Regions from separate parts of the Homo sapiens genome. Here region 2 is linked to region 1. Evidence: promoter capture Hi-C in human tissues and cell types (Jung and others, 2019). All regions are on one chromosome and are shown on one strand. Each heading gives the region's core, a stretch centred on a gene start or on the middle of the fragment in contact. The rest is flanking DNA. Distances are from core to core; before and after follow the strand shown. Region 1 holds the start of VSTM1 (V-set and transmembrane domain containing 1). Region 2 has its middle 9.0 kb from the start of PPP2R1A.

Region 1 (2,904 bases), core at 405-2,904:
GCTGAGTGAAAAAGGTCACCCTCAGAAGGTGAGGCGATGGACGATTCCATTTATACAAGAGTCTCAAAGTGACAAAGTGATAGAGACGTAGAACAGATTAGCAGGTGCTAGGGTGGGAGAGCGATTATAAAGGGGCAGCATGAGGGAGTTCCTACGTGGTGGTGGGACAGTTCTGTGTCTTGATTGTGGCGGTGGTTCTATAAAGCCATACATACAGGCAATAAAATGTTACAGAACTATACCCATAGGCAAAGAAAAGGGAGGAGGAAAAGAAGGTGGAAGAGGAGGAAGAGCAGGAGAAAAGAAGGAAAAGGAGAAAAGGAAATAGAAATAGAAGGAAGAGGAAGAGAAAAAGAGAAACGAATTATGCACAAACTGGTGAGATCTGAGTGACCTCTGGAACCTGGTTAAACGTGTGATGCCAGTGCAAAGTCTCTGGTTTTGAAAATGTGCCATACGCCGGGCGTGGTGGCTCACGCCTGTAATCCCAGCAGTTTGGGAGGCCGAGGCAGGCGGATCGCCTGAGGTCAGAAGTTCGAGACCAGCCTGGGCAACATGGCAAAACCTCGTTTCTACTAAAAAGAACAAAAAAAATTAGCCAAGAGTGGTGGCGGACACCTGTCATCCCGGCAACTCGGGAGGCTGAGGCAGGAGAATCGCTTGAACCCGGGAGGCAGAGGTTGCAGTGAGCCAAGATTGTGCCACTGCACTCCAGCCTGGCTGACAGAGATTCTGTCTCAAAAAAAAAAAAAAAAAAAAAAAGTACTGTAATTATAAGAGATTACCATTGGCCGGGCACAGTGGCTTATGCCTGTAATCCCAGCACTTTGGGAGGCTGAGGTGGGCGGGTCACTAGAGACCAGGAGTTCAAGACCAGCCTGGCCCACATGGTGAAATCCCATCTCTACAAAAAATTAGCTGGGTGTGGTGGTGCATGCTTGTAATCCCAGCTACTTGGGAGTCTGAGGCAGGAGAATCCTTAAACCCATGAGGCAGAGGTTGCAGTGAGCCGAGATCGCGCCACTGCACTCCAGCCTGGGTGACAGAGCAAGACTCTGTCCCCCCCGCCCCCCAAAAAAAGGTTAACATTGTGGGGAGCTGGCTAGTGGGTACACGGAAGCTATAAAGCTATAGGTATTAATGTTTGTTTGTTTGCTTGTTTGAGACAGTTTCACCGTTGTTGTCCAGGCTGGAGTGCAGTGGCACAATCTTGGCTCACAGCAACCTCCGCCTCCTGGGTTCAAGCCATTCTCCTGTCTCAGCCTCCGGAGTAGCTGGGATTACAGGCATGCGCCACCATGCCTGGCTAATTTTGTATTTTTAGTAGAGACGGGGGTTTCTCCATTTTGGTCAGGCTGGTCTTGAACTCCCGACCTCAGGTGATCCGCCCGCCTCAGCCTCTCAAGGTGCTGGGATTACAGGCGTGAGCCACCGCGTCCGGCCGGTATTAGTGTTTTAAAATAAAAAATTACATTTACAGAAAACTCTTGGCAGAACTTCAGATAAGGTAGGACAGAGCTCGGGCGGGTGGGGCCACACACACCGGATTCATGGGGAAGAAGTTATCATCGACGGCTTCTTGTTTCCTGAGTCGGTTGTGAGAAGGAAACTGCAAGAGTGGGGCAGAGAACCAGAGTGTCAGAGCAAAACCTCCTCTATCTGCACATCCTGGGGACGAACCGGGCAGCCGGAGAGCTGCGGCCGGCCCAGTCCCGCTCCGCCTTTGAAGGGTAAAACCCAAGGCGGGGCCTTGGTTCTGGCAGAAGGGACGCTATGACCGCAGAATTCCTCTCCCTGCTTTGCCTCGGTGAGTCTCCAGGACTGGGACGAATGGGCTTGGGCTGGTGAGAAAAACTCATGTGGGAGTGGCAGTCCAGGTGGAAATGCGGTGTGTGGAAGTAATGACTTCCAGGTGTTGCACACCTGCGGTGGGTGGGTCTGGGCTGTGGGTTCTGTGAGTTCTGCCGCCCACATGCAAGCGAGGAGGAGGCCGCGCTGCAGAGACACGGGGACAGACTCCGCTGGGAAAGGCAGAGCTGCTGTGGGGTCTCCGAGTCTGCAGCCGCTAAATACCGCAGTACTGCCATCATCCTCCGTCGGAATAGAGGAGGGCTGGGCTTAGGGATCTACAGGGTGCAAGGCTGTGGGCAAAAAGACAATTTTCTTCTCTCTCTCTCTTATTTATTTATTTATGTATGTATGCATTTATTTATGAGACAGAGTCTCACTCTGTAGCCCAGGCTGGAGTGCAATGGCGTGATCTGGGCTCACTGCAACCTCCGTCTCCCAGGTTCAAGCGATTCTCCTGCCTCAGCCTCCCGAGTAGGTGGGACTACAGGTGCAGGCCACCACACCCGGCTGACTTTTGTATTTTAAGTAGAGACGGGGTTTCACCATGTTGGTCAGGCTGGTCTCGAGCCCCTGACCTCAGGTGATCCGCCCGCCTCAGCCTCCCAAAGTGCTGGGATTACAGGCGTGAGCCACCACACCTGGCCCCAAGAAGACAATTTTCTGACCAGCTCGATTCTTAGGCTGATTTTAACCATCCTCCAATTGAACCTGATGTATTCAGACAGAGCTCACACTGTGAAACGGATGACCTGGGTTATAATCTCGGCTTTACTACATAGAAACTCTAGGCTTGACCCAGCAGAGCTCCACCTCCCTAAGGCCCCAGTTCCTCCCTGGTGCACGGGGGGTGCGGTGGACATCGACGTGCTTCGTCTGCTTCAGTTCCTTCCTCCTTTTCTGGGTGCAGCCCTTCCTTGTGGGGTAATGCTCGTCTCCTACACACATTTGCACCTTAGATGAGCATTTTTTTTTTTTTTTGACAGAGTCTTGCTTTGTCTCCCAGGCTGGAGTGCAGTGGTGTGATCTCAGCTCACTGCAACCTCCACCTCCTGG
Region 2 (3,183 bases), core at 92-2,591, 1.9 Mb after region 1:
CCTGACCAACATGGAAAAACCCCGTCTATACTAAAAATACAAAATTAGCCAGGTGTGGGGGCACATGCCTGTAATCCCAGCTACTCAGGAAGGCTGAGGCAGAAGAATCGCTTGAACCCGGGAGGCGGAGGTTGCAGTGAGCCGAGATCACGCCACTGCACTCCAGCCTGGGCAACAAGAGCAGAACTCCATCTCAAACATAAATAAATAAATAAGCTGGGTATAGTGGCATCTGCCTGCGGTCCCAGCTACTGTACTTGGGAGGCTGAGGTGGGAGGATTGGTTCGGTCCAGGAGATTGAGGTGAGGCTACAGTGAGCCATGAATGTGCCGCTGCACTCCAGCCTGTATGACAGAGCAAGACTCTGCCTCAAAAAAACAAAAGAAAACAGCCGGGCATGGTGGCTCATGCCTGTAGTCCCAGCTACTCAGGAGGCTGAGGCAGGAGAATCGCTTAAACCCTGGAGGTGGAGGTTGCAGTGAGTCGAGATTGTGCCACTACACTCCAGCCTGGGCGACAGAGCGAGACTGTCTCAAAAACAAAATAATATTAACGGGAAATAGTATTGGCAAGGATGTGGAGAAAGGGAACCCTTGTACACCATTGGTGGGAATGTAAATTGGTAGAAAACATTATGGAGGTTCCTCAAAAAATTAAAAATAGAACTACCAGGTGATTCAGCAATCCCCCTTCATGGTATATATCCAAAGGAATGAAATCAATATCTTGGAGAGAGATCTGCACTCCTATGTTTATTGCCACAATAACCAAGATGTGGAAAAAACCTAAATGTTCACTGATAAATGGATAAACACACACACACACACACACACACACTATTCAGCCTTTAAAAAAATGGAAATCTAGGCCAGGCGTGGTGGCTCACGCCCGTAATCCCAGCACTTTGGGAGGCCGAGGCTGGTGGATCACCTGAGGTCAGGAGTTCAAAACCAGCCTGGCCAACATAGTGAAACCCCCGTCTCTACTAAAAATACAAAAAACTAGCCGGGCATGTTGGTGGGTGCCTCTAATCCCAGCTACTCGGCAGACTGAGGGAGGAGAATCGCTTGAACCCAGGAGTTGGAGGTTGCAGTGAGCCGAGATAGGGACATTGCACTCCAGCCTGGGTGACAATAGTGAAACTCCGTCTCAAAAAAAACAGGCCAGGCACAGTGGCTCACGCCTGTAATCCAAGCACATTGGGAGGCCAAGGCGGGCAGAACATGAGGTCAGGAGTTCGAGAGCAGCCTGGCCAGCATGGTGAAACCGCATCTCTACTAAAAAAATACAAAAAAATTAGCTGGGCATGGTGGTGCACACCTGTAATCCCAGCTACTCGGGAGGCTGAGGCAGAAGAGTTGCTTGAACCCAGGAGGTCGAAGTTGCAGTGGACCAAGATCGCACCACTACGCTCCAGCCTGGGCGACAGAGTGAAACTGCGTCTCAAATAAAAAGGAAAAAAACGGAAATCTTGTCATTTGTGATGACTTGGACGAACCTAAGGGACATTATGCAAAGTAAAATAAGACAGACACAGAAAGACAAATAACATATGATCTCGTATGTTTTTTTTTTTTGAGACAGAGTGTCGCTCTGTCACCCAGGCTGGAGTGCAGTGGCACGATCTCAGCTCACTGCAAGCTCTGCTTTCTGGGTTCACGCCATTCTCCTGCCCTCCTGAGTAGCTGGGACTACAGGCGCCCACCCCCATGCCCGGCTAATTTTGTTTTTTTATTTTTAGTAGAGACTGGGTTTCACTATGTTGGCCAGGCTGGTTTTGAACCCCTGAGCTTGTGATCTGCCTGCCTCGGCCTCCCAAAGTGCTTGGATTAGGAGCGTGAGCCACCGCGCCCGGCCGTATGACCTCATTTATATGTGGAATCCAAAATAGTCAAACACACAGAAGCAGAAAGCAGAATAGTGGTTGCAAGAGGCTGAGAGGTGGGAGGAAATGAAAAGGTGTTGGTCAAAGTGTGCAAAGTTTCTCATGAAGAGAAACTTTTTTTTTTTAATTTCATGGGGAAATTAAAAAAGCAAAAAGCAAAAAAACAAAAACAAAAAGGAAAGTGTACAAAGTTTCAGTCCTGCAAGATAAACAAGTTCTGGAGGCCTACCGTACAACATAGGGCACATGATTAACAAATACGGCGTTGTACATTTAAAACTTTGCTGAAAGGGTAGGTCTTATATAAGATCTTATGTTATCACAAAAGGACAAACAAAACCAAAGCGGAGTGAAGAAATGAACTGGAAGGGAATTTTTGGAGGCAATTGATAAGTTTATGGCATTAGTTGTGATAATAGTTTCAAGGATGTATACTTATTTCCAAACACGTGAAGTTGTATACATTAAATATCTACAGTTTTTTATATGTCAATCATACCTCAATAAAGTAGTTTTTCTTTCTTTCTGTCTTTCTCTTTTGAGGTGGAGTTTTGCTCTTGTTGCCCAGGCTGGAGAGCAATGCATGATCTCAGCTCACTACAACCTCCACCTCATGGGTTCAAGCAATTCTCCTGCCAAGTAGCTGGGATTACAGGCATGTGCCACCACGTCTGGCTGATTTTGTATTTTTAGTAGAGATGGGGTTTCACTGTGTTGGTCAGGCTGGTCTCGAACTCCCAACGTCAGGTGATCCAGCCACCTAGGCCTCCCAAAATGCTGGTATTACAGGCATGAGCCACCAGACCTAGCCTAATAAAGCATTTTTTTTTTTTTTTTGAGACGGAGTCTCGCTCTGTCGCTCAGGCTGGAGTGCAGTGGCATGATCTCAGCTCACTGCAAGCTCTGCCTCCCGGGTTCACACCATTCTCCTACCTCAGCCTCTGGAGTAGCTGGGACTACAGGCGCCCACCACCACACCTGGCTAATTTTTTGTATTTTTAGTAGAGACGGGGTTTCACCATGTTAGCTAGGATGGTCTCGATCTCCTGACCTCGTGATCCACCCGCCTCGGCCTCCCGAAGTGCTGGGATTACAGGCATGAGCCACCGTGCCCGGCCATAAAGTAGTTTTTAAAAGCTCAAAGAACCCTGCAGAGCTAAGATTCCTAGGAAAAAAAAAAAAAAAACTTAAAGCAACAAAATAATGTTGCCATTTAAAACTAACTGCTCTCATAAGGGACACAATTATGTTAAAGGGAAGACTCACATTCTCCAAATCAAAATGAGTTTAAGTGTACA

The links. Contacts are between HindIII fragments. The study calls those that stand out against the background at their distance.
Region 2: a fragment that was not itself captured here is called in contact with the fragment with the promoter of VSTM1 in region 1 in 1 of the 25 tissues and cell types used here (adrenal gland).

The regions. Positions count from the first base shown.
Region 1 is chr19:54,062,647-54,065,550 of GRCh38, reverse strand. VSTM1 (V-set and transmembrane domain containing 1) reads left to right here and starts at 1,654. Exons shown (of 9, transcript NM_198481.4): 1 at 1,654-1,807. The coding sequence starts at 1,774. The HindIII fragment of the contact is 40,052 bases long and covers 1-2,904 here.
Region 2 is chr19:52,179,427-52,182,609 of GRCh38, reverse strand. No RefSeq gene overlaps it. Among named protein-coding and RNA genes, the nearest start is that of PPP2R1A, 9.0 kb to the left of the region's middle. The HindIII fragment of the contact is 6,111 bases long and covers 1-3,183 here.